3 separate regions of the Homo sapiens genome follow, and regions 1 and 2 are each linked to region 3. The links are contacts of gene promoters, found by promoter capture Hi-C in blood cells and fetal thymus (Javierre and others, 2016). All regions are on one chromosome and are shown on one strand. The core of a region is centred on a gene start or on the middle of the fragment in contact, and the rest is flanking DNA. Distances in the headings are between cores, read along the strand shown.

Evidence for each region. The method cuts DNA at HindIII sites, captures the fragments that hold promoters and counts their contacts. A CHiCAGO score of 5 or more calls a contact.
Region 1: a fragment that was not itself captured here is called in contact with the fragment with the promoter of MAN1B1 in region 3 in 1 of 17 cell types (activated CD4 T cells); the score reaches 6.6 in activated CD4 T cells.
Region 2: a contact is called between a fragment that was not itself captured here and the fragment with the promoter of MAN1B1 in region 3, in 5 of 17 cell types (naive CD8 T cells, non-activated CD4 T cells, total CD4 T cells and 2 more). The highest score is 7.6, in naive CD8 T cells.

Annotation. Positions count from the first base shown.
Region 1 is chr9:136,754,106-136,756,805 of GRCh38, forward strand. LCN8 (lipocalin 8) reads right to left here. Exons shown (of 7, transcript NM_178469.4): 3 at 2,417-2,487; 4 at 1,307-1,411; 5 at 1,139-1,228; 6 at 1,030-1,055; 7 at 281-404. The coding sequence ends at 393. Among named protein-coding and RNA genes, the nearest start is that of LCN8, 2.8 kb to the right of the region's middle. The HindIII fragment of the contact is 243 bases long and covers 1,300-1,542 here.
Region 2 is chr9:136,809,625-136,812,389 of GRCh38, forward strand. All of the region lies in intron 1 of RABL6 (RAB, member RAS oncogene family like 6), which reads left to right. It also overlaps the pseudogene LOC100422233. Among named protein-coding and RNA genes, the nearest start is that of CCDC183-AS1, 2.2 kb to the left of the region's middle. The HindIII fragment of the contact is 3,825 bases long and covers 1-2,765 here.
Region 3 is chr9:137,085,563-137,088,525 of GRCh38, forward strand. It overlaps MAN1B1 (mannosidase alpha class 1B member 1), which reads left to right and starts at 1,423. Exons shown (of 13, transcript NM_016219.5): 1 at 1,423-1,656; 2 at 2,513-2,621. The coding sequence starts at 1,438. MAN1B1-DT (MAN1B1 divergent transcript) reads right to left here and starts at 1,255. Exons shown (of 1, transcript NR_027447.1): 1 at 1-1,255. RefSeq lists silencers at 777-1,006, 1,557-1,786 and an enhancer at 1,347-1,576. The HindIII fragment of the contact is 12,458 bases long and covers 1-2,963 here.

The sequences.
Region 1 (2,700 bases), core at 171-2,670, 330 kb before region 3:
GCCATGGAGGATGCAGGCAGGAGGGGTGTGGCCTCCATGCGTTTGACAGACCTGCTGAGACTCCACCAGGAGCCCTGTTTCTGTCTCTGGTCTATACCCTGGGGCAGCCTGACCACGACCCTAGCAGGGCGGGAGGGCAGGGGTTGCTGCCTTGCACGTGAGCTGCACTGTTTGTCCAGTAACCACGGAAAACACACCTCCTGTTGCCAGACCTGGGGCGGGTGAGTCCCCCCACACCTGTCACCCATCGGCCCTCCGGAAGGACACACCAGGCAGTGGCTTGACTTCACAGTTTATTCAGAGCAGGTGCAGGTGACCTGGTGGGCAGGGTGCCCAGGAGGGGCAGGGGTGGGCGGGCGCTCCGAACCTTGTGGTCTGAGGCAGGAACTCCATTAAATCAGCTCCTGCGACACAGAAGTGCAGGGGCTCAGGCCCGTGTGGTCTCTGGAGGCCCCACGGGGCTTCGATGAGGGCCACACGGCGGGACTTCTGTCCTCGCTGCCTGGTTTTGCGCAAAGCACCCAGCTCCCTGAGCGCCTTCTCAATCTGCAAAATGGGGTAACAGGCCCAGCCTCTAGGGCCAAGACAAAGCGAGGTGAGGGAGACACTGGGTTCTCGCAGTGCCCAACATGGGAGCCCTGAGGCAGCGCCCGCAGGATCTGTGCCCCGCCGCCGACGGGACCTTCGGGGGCAGAAGCAGCCGGCAGTCCTGCACAGAACACCGAAGAAAAGGCGCCATTTCTGCTCCCCTGCCCCACCCAGCTCTGCACCCCGTGACCCCAGCCTCCCAGGGTCCCTGCCTGGCAGCCTAGGGTCACCACCCTGGAGGTTCCAGCTCTTTCCAAACCAGGAGACAGACTCATCTCTGGAGCTGCCCACCAGTGGTGTTTGGTGTCCTGTTCACAGGAAGGGGTGAGAAGGCCCAGCCCAGGGCCGGGAGGCGGAGCCACGGGGGCTCCTGACAGGGCCAGGGACTGGGCCAGGGGCCCGGGAACTTCAGCACAGGCCAGGGTCGGGGGTCAGGCTCACCTCCTTCAGGAGCTCGGCACACCGCCCTGCAGGATAGGCCAGCATGAGGAGCTGCAGAGTCAGCCCACAGGGCCCAGCCCAGCCTCCACCCCAAGGCCCCTGGGCTCACCAGGCCGGGCCGCCAGGTAGAGACCAGTGTCTGCTGTCAGCTCCCGAAACTTCCAGAACCCCAGCCGGTCCTTGTCCTCAAGGCTCCGAGCTGTGGGGCACAGGGGGGCTGGGCGGGCAGTCCCTGGGAGAGCAGCAGCTGGGCAGAGCCCCCCAGGGCCAAGCTTACTAAAGTACTTGAGGACGCGAAAGTTCCTGCCCCGCCACATCAGGGACACCCGCAGGATGGCGTAGCCCTCGTAGTCGGTGTCCAGCACGTGGATCTCTCTGTGGCCTTCAAGAGCCGGCCATGGCGTTGGGGGAGACGTCTGAGGGGGACGGACCTCGAAGGCCAGGGTCTGCAGGGTCTAACTCCATCCTGCCCCCACCCAGTCCCAGCACTTGAGTGGTTGGAGACACTACAGAAGCTTTTGAAGGATGATCCAGTGTGTTGGTGGGAGAATGGGAAGGTCTGGGGCATGAAATGTGCAGGGAACAGCATGGGGAACAGTGCAGGGAACCCTGCAGGGAACAGCATGGGGAACGGTGCAGGAAACAGCATGGGGAACAGTGCAGGGAACAGCATGGGGAACAGTGCAGGGAACAGTGCAGGGAATGCATGGGGAACGGCACAGAGAAAAGTGCAGGGAACAGCATGGGGAATAGTGCAGGGAGCAGTGCGGGGAACAGTGCAGGGAGCATTGCAGGGAACAGCATGGGGAACAGTGCAGGGAACAGTGCAGGGAATGCATGGGGAACGGCACAGAGAAAAGTGCAGGGAACAGCATGGGGAATAGTGCAGGAAACAGCATGGGGAACAGTGCAGGGAGCAGTGCGGGGAACAGTGCAGGGAGCATTGCAGGGAACAGCATGGGGAACAGTGCAGGGAACAGCATGGGGAACAGCGCAGGGAACAGCATGTGGAACAGCGCAGGGAACAGCATGAGGAACAGTGCAGGGAACAGCATGGGGAACAGCGCAGGGAACAGCATGGGGAACAGTGCAGGGAACAGTGCAGGGAACGCATGGGGAATGGCGCAGAGAAAAGTGCAGGGAACAGCATGGGGAATAGTGCAGGAAACAGCATGTGGAACAGTGCAGGGAGCAGTGCAGGGAACAACATGGGGAACAGCACAGGGAATAGTTCAGGGAACAGCATGGGGAACAGTGCAGGGAACAGCACAGAGAACAGTGCAGGGAACAGCATGGGGAACAGTGCAGGGAACAGCATGGGGAACAATAAGGCCTAGCTGTGTGCACAGCCGGGTTCCACCTGCCATCACAGGGCAACTGCACTTACCAGGAAAAGCGAATTTTCCCGTACTGTCTATTTCTGAGCCCACGATCTTCTCTATCTCACAGCTTCCTGAGCTGAAAGGCAGCAAAGTGCCCATCGGTAAAATGCTAGCCTGTGTCCCGCCTGCTGGGCTCCTTCCCGGAGTGGGGCTGTGTCTTTAGGAAGGGCACAGGCAGCACTGTGGAGTATCCCAGGCCTGGAGCAGGATGAGGCGGGGAATGTGCCAGGTGGGGCCTTCCCCTGGGGATTCTGTTCCCTCCAGCCAGTCACCTGTCCCACACCCCTTT
Region 2 (2,765 bases), core at 105-2,604, 280 kb before region 3:
AAAAAATTTAAAAGAAAGTTGATGTCCGAACCAAGGGCCGTATTGGCTTTTCTTATACTCTAGAACATACGACGACAAAGAAGATTTTGATGAAGTTCAAATTAGAGTCAGCGTGCTCATCAGAAAGAAAGCGCAGCCAACACGTTTAGGAACAGAAACGGATTATGTTGAAGACAAACAATCCATTGCGTTTGTGTTCAGTAACCCAAGCATCAAAGGAACTTGTGGCTGGGGAGAAGGCTTGACTATTTGAAATCTCAGGACTCCTCTGTCCAGGAGCTCCCAGACTCCCGTGGAGTGGAAGCCTGGGGGCTCGCTGAAGAAGTCACGTGACTGGAACGTGCTTAATGCTTGGCTGTCTGGTAAGGAAAATAAAGTGGTGCATTTTGAATAAAAATAAAAGCTGATTTTAAATGTGTTATAATTGAAACTTTATACATAGCTGGCATTCGGAGAAGAGAATATTGAGTCAAAATAACTGAGTTTACGCCAGTTTTTAGACTCTGCGTTTGGATCCTTTATTTAATTTTATTGCTTACAGTATTGGCTAAGCTCAGTATTAGTCCCTGGGAAATCAGGCCTGGACCTGGAAACTGTTCACCTTCTGAAAAGGCTCCCCGAGGGTCCTGGGCAAGGTCCACCTCATGCACCAGGACCACCCCTGTGTGGTCCTGGGCGAGTGTGACTAAAAAGGGCAATGGGGTCCTTCCAGAGGAGAAAAGCCAGTCTCCAGTACTTGGAGAACAGGTTATGATCTCCTAGAACTGAATGAAAGGTGGTGAGACAGAGAGAAATTTGAATTTGTACCTAAATTACATTTTAGAAAGATGTTATCTTTATAGCTGAATAACATGCAATTTTAAAACTTTTGAGTTTCTGTGTTAGAATAGAAAGTTTCTAGTATTTCTTTTCTTTTCTTTTCTTTTTTGAGACAGAGTTTTGCGTTTTGCTGTGTCTCCCAGGCTGGAGTGCAGTGGCGTGATCTCAGCTCACTGCAAGCTCCTCCTCCCGGGTTCACACCATTCTCCTGCTTCAGCCTCCCGAGTAGCTGGGACTATAGGCACCGGCCACCACGCCCGGCTAATTTTTTGTATTTTTAGTAGAGGCAGGATTTCACCGTGTTAGCCAGGATGGTCTCAATCTCCTGACCTCGTGATCTGCCCGCCTCAGCCTCTCAAAGTGCTGGGATTACAGGCGTAAGCCACCATGCCCGGCTTTCTGGTATTTATTTTCTCAAATATTTTACAGAGCGTAACAGACCAGCAATGTGATCAAGACAGAGTCGAGGGTTTTGGGGGTGAGAGTTTCTGGGAACTGCTGCGGGTTTCCAGGAGTCTGGGCTCTCCTCCTGGGCCCTGCATTTGCTCGGAGTTGCTAGTGGTCCCGGTAGACGTGTGGGACACCCACTGGTTTTAGAATAAAAACTCGAATGAGACATTGGACCATAATGGATGAAAAAGTCAAACTCTGTCAAATATTTGAAGAGATTTATTTTTGAGCTGAATATGAGTGACCATGGCTCGTGACATAGCCCTCAGGTGACCCTGAGGACATGTGCCCAAGGTGGAGGGCACAGCTTGGTTTTATACATTTTAGACATGAGACAGTAATCAAATACATTTAAGATATATGTTGATTTGGTCCACAAAGGCGGGACAACTTGAAGTGGGGGCTTCCAGGTCGGAGGTAGTTTAAAAAAATTGTGTTTTTTTGCCGGGCGCGGTGGCTCACGCCTGTAATCTCAGCACATTGAGAGGCCGAGGCAGGCGGACAACCTGAGGCCAGGAGTTCAAGACCAGCCTGGCCAACATGTCGAAACCCCGTCTCTACTAAAACTATAAAAATTAACCGGGTGTGATGGTGGGTGCCTGTAATCCCAGCTACTCAGGAGGCTGAGGCGGGAGAATCGCTTGAGCCCAAGTGGCAGAAGTTACAGTGAGCTGAGATTGTGCCACTGCACTCCAGCCTGGGTGACAGAGTCAGACCCTGTCTCAAAAAAAAAAAAAAAAACAATTGCACCACCACACCCAGCTAATTTTGGTATTTTTTAGAGAGACAGGGTTTCACCACGTTGCCCAGCTGGGCTCAGACCCCTCTACTCAAGCAGTCCGAACCCCTTGGCCTCCCAAAGTGCTGGGATTACAGGCGTGAGCCACCGCGCCTGGCCAGATTATGTTTCTTATCAGACTTAAAGTCAGTGTTGATGTTAAATGCTGGTGAGCTTTTCCTGAATTCCAGAAGGGAGGAGGCCACAATGAGGCCTGTCTGACTCCCCTCTTCCCATAATGGCCTGAACCAGTCTTTCAGATGAAATTTGGATGGCCCTGGCCTAGAAGAGGAAGTCCATTCAGATGGTTGGCAGGCCTTGGGATTTTAATTTTGGTTTACACAATTTTGAAATTATTTGCATATAAAATTATTAGGAAAATTATTTGAAATTATTTGGAAGAAAGATTGTTGCCTGAGTTGGTCTGTCCCTTTCTACTGTGACTGGACACAAAATATCAGTTGTATTTGGTGCAGAATTTTTCTGTGGAGTTGCTCCTGAGTGAGCATTATTGTGCAGCTCTGATACTGGCCTGGCCCAGGAGCTCGGACAACCAGAGTCCTCTCTGAGTAGACACTGGTGCGAATTTAGAAATGGGACTTAGCAGGCCGGGCACGGTGGCTCACACCTGTAATCCCAGCACTTTGGGAGGCTGAGGTGGGCGGATTACATGAGGTCAGGAGTTCAAGACCAACCTGGCCAACATGATGAAACTCAT
Region 3 (2,963 bases), core at 173-2,672:
AGAGACGGGTGTCTCACCATGTTGGCCAGGCTAGTCTTGAACTCCTGACCTCAAGTGATCCACCTGCCTCGGCCTCCCAAAGTCCTGGGATTACAGAAGCCACCGCGCCTGGCCCCAAGGGGAATCTTTTAAAAAAGAGAAGTTCCCATAAACTGCTTTGAAACCATAAAGACCAAAGGTTAGAAGGGTTTGCCGCAGGCGCTCCGTTGCTAATGTTTTTGTGAGGGCTTCTTCAGGGCCTCTTGTTAGAGTGTGACATAAACGACTTCATTTGGGTACCAGCAAGTGTCACAGGGGGCAGAGACCAGCAGAAACCTAAAGATGACCCCTAGAAGAGCAGGAGGCCAGGGGAACAGAGTTAGACGAGCCACGTGCTAAGCAGGACGTCGCTGCCGGGGGAGCTCTCCAGACACGCAGAAATGCCACAGTCAGGACCGTGGGACGCAGCGGATTCGCCCAAGGGCAGGAGCAGCCTGGCCAGGAGAGAATGAAGGAGGGGCCGGGCGTGAGGTTCGGCTGGGGAGAACCCAGGCAGGGAGGGCCTCGGGCGGCCACGGACGCCGCTTTGCCATTTTGGGCGTTTCTGGGGAGGACAACGCGTGCAGGAAGCGCAGTCATCTCAAGCTGACCTCCAAGGTTACCGAGTTCGAGGGCTGGGAGCCGGGTCTGAAAGCCCCGACCCGCCTATGGCGCGGGGACTGTGGGTCCAGCCGGCCGATTGGCCGCCTCGCTCGGCGCCGGTCCAGGCGCAGCGCTCGGGCCCCGGGGACCGTGAGATGCGGCGCAGCCAGCTTAGCTCGGGGTAGCAGCCACCCCAGCCCGGGTGCCGCCCGGCCTGGTCCGCGACTTCGGGAGGGTCCGGTCCTTCCCCCGGCCCCCACGCCTGGGTGAGGCCCTGGGCTTCTTGCCGGTGACCACGCGGCCAGGGTGGGCACCAGCCCAGGACGGCGCCCAAGGGCAGCCCAGCTCCATCCCCGCGCCGCGGGTTCCGGAACCGAGGCGCGGGACGCTGGGACTCTCTGCCAACATGGCGGCCCCGCCCGGGCGCCTCCCCGGGTCCCTAGTGTCTGCGTCTCCCGTGAGGGCGTGGGCAAAGTCGGTGCAGCCAGACGACAGGAGGCGAGAGAAGCCCAGCTCCAGGCCCATGAGGCGAACCACGTGGGAGCCCCAGACAGCGACCACGCCCCAGGCGAACCAAGGCCCGCCCCGTTGCTACAGCTACGCTCGTAGCACACCTGGGCAGGCGCTGCCGGACGCATGCGCAATGAACCTGAGGGCAGGGCGGAGTCGCAGCAGTTGTCTGACGCAGTCGCCGTAGGACGCAGCCCCGTACGCTGGAGCGCAGCGGAGACAGGCGCGGGCGCACTGGCCGCATAGAGACGCAGCGCACGCGCAGTCGCGTATCCGTGTGATGGGCGGGCTGTTGACGGCGCTGCGATGGCTGCCTGCGAGGGCAGGAGAAGCGGAGCTCTCGGTTCCTCTCAGTCGGACTTCCTGACGCCGCCAGTGGGCGGGGCCCCTTGGGCCGTCGCCACCACTGTAGTCATGTACCCACCGCCGCCGCCGCCGCCTCATCGGGACTTCATCTCGGTGACGCTGAGCTTTGGCGAGAACTATGACAACAGCAAGAGTTGGCGGCGGCGCTCGTGCTGGAGGGTGAGGGTCGCGCCGGGCTGACTGGGGCCCGGGGCTGCCGTGCCCGCCGCCCTCCCAGACTGCGGCTCCGAGCGGGACCTGGGCGGGCGGACTCGACTCCCCAGGCGCCGCCCTCTCCACCCCTTCCCCGCAAAAAGGGGCAAATGTGCGTTCCTGGTTGGGGCAGCCGTGGGCGGCTCGCCTGCAGCGGTCTCAGCGGCCCAAATTCTGCGGGGCGGTGGTGGGAAGAGGGCTCAGAGCCCCAGCAGGTTTTCTGGGCTTCGTTCGCTTTTCTGCAAGGTCCTGGCCCAGGCGCCTGCCCCTCTTGGAGCGGAAACCGGAGGTTCCCCGTGGTGTATGCTCCCCTCGGTACAGTGAGAAATGAGCCCCTCTTGATTGGCTCCTGGTCTGTTCGTGGTGGTCTCAGGCCGAAGGGCATTGATAACCACATGCGGACTGTGCATCGCCTGGGCGGTGCCTGGGCTACATCTGTGGGAGTCGCAGGAGTCTTTCTCCACTGTTGATGAAATGTGACAGAAATGTTTCTGCTTTTTTCTTATCCTCGTCTCATCTGCACCACTGTATTAACGACATCTGTAGTATTGTCCCAGCAATGTTCCTACTCCCTGCTGAGAGGGAACTTCTCCCCATTCAAAATAAATAGAGCTGGCCGGGCACGGTGGCTCATCCCGCGTTCCACCCACTACACTCCAGCCTAGGTGTAACAGAATGAGACCCTGTTTCCAAAAAAAAAAAGAAATAGAGCTGAACACTGGATCTTCCAGAAGAATTCCTTATTGTCCTCACAGTTTGTGACAGTTGAGACGTTCCGTGTGATATATTCAGTAAGAAATGTCATTCTCTGTACCTCCCTTAGAAATGGAAGCAACTGTCGAGATTGCAGCGGAATATGATTCTCTTCCTCCTTGCCTTTCTGCTTTTCTGTGGACTCCTCTTCTACATCAACTTGGCTGACCATTGGAAAGGTATCAGAAACACGTGTACTTGAAAACGATATCTGTGTTGAGGGTTGATTGGGCAGAAGCAATCTTGCATTCTACCTTAAACAGCTCCAGGAGGCATATATGGCAACGAATTGGCAAGAAATCAAGATAAAGAGAAAGGTAGAGCTGTATGTAACCACCTGGCTAGAACACAGATGTTAATTTGATGCTGTCTGACTACTTTCTAGGTCTCTGGTGTAAGTACTGATATGTCCAGCCTCCCTTATAGAGTAAGTCAGCTGGTGGGCTTGAACACTCAGCCTAAATAACCACACAAATTTCGTAGCACTCATTAGCGTGTGTTTGGAAAAGACCAGGCAGAGT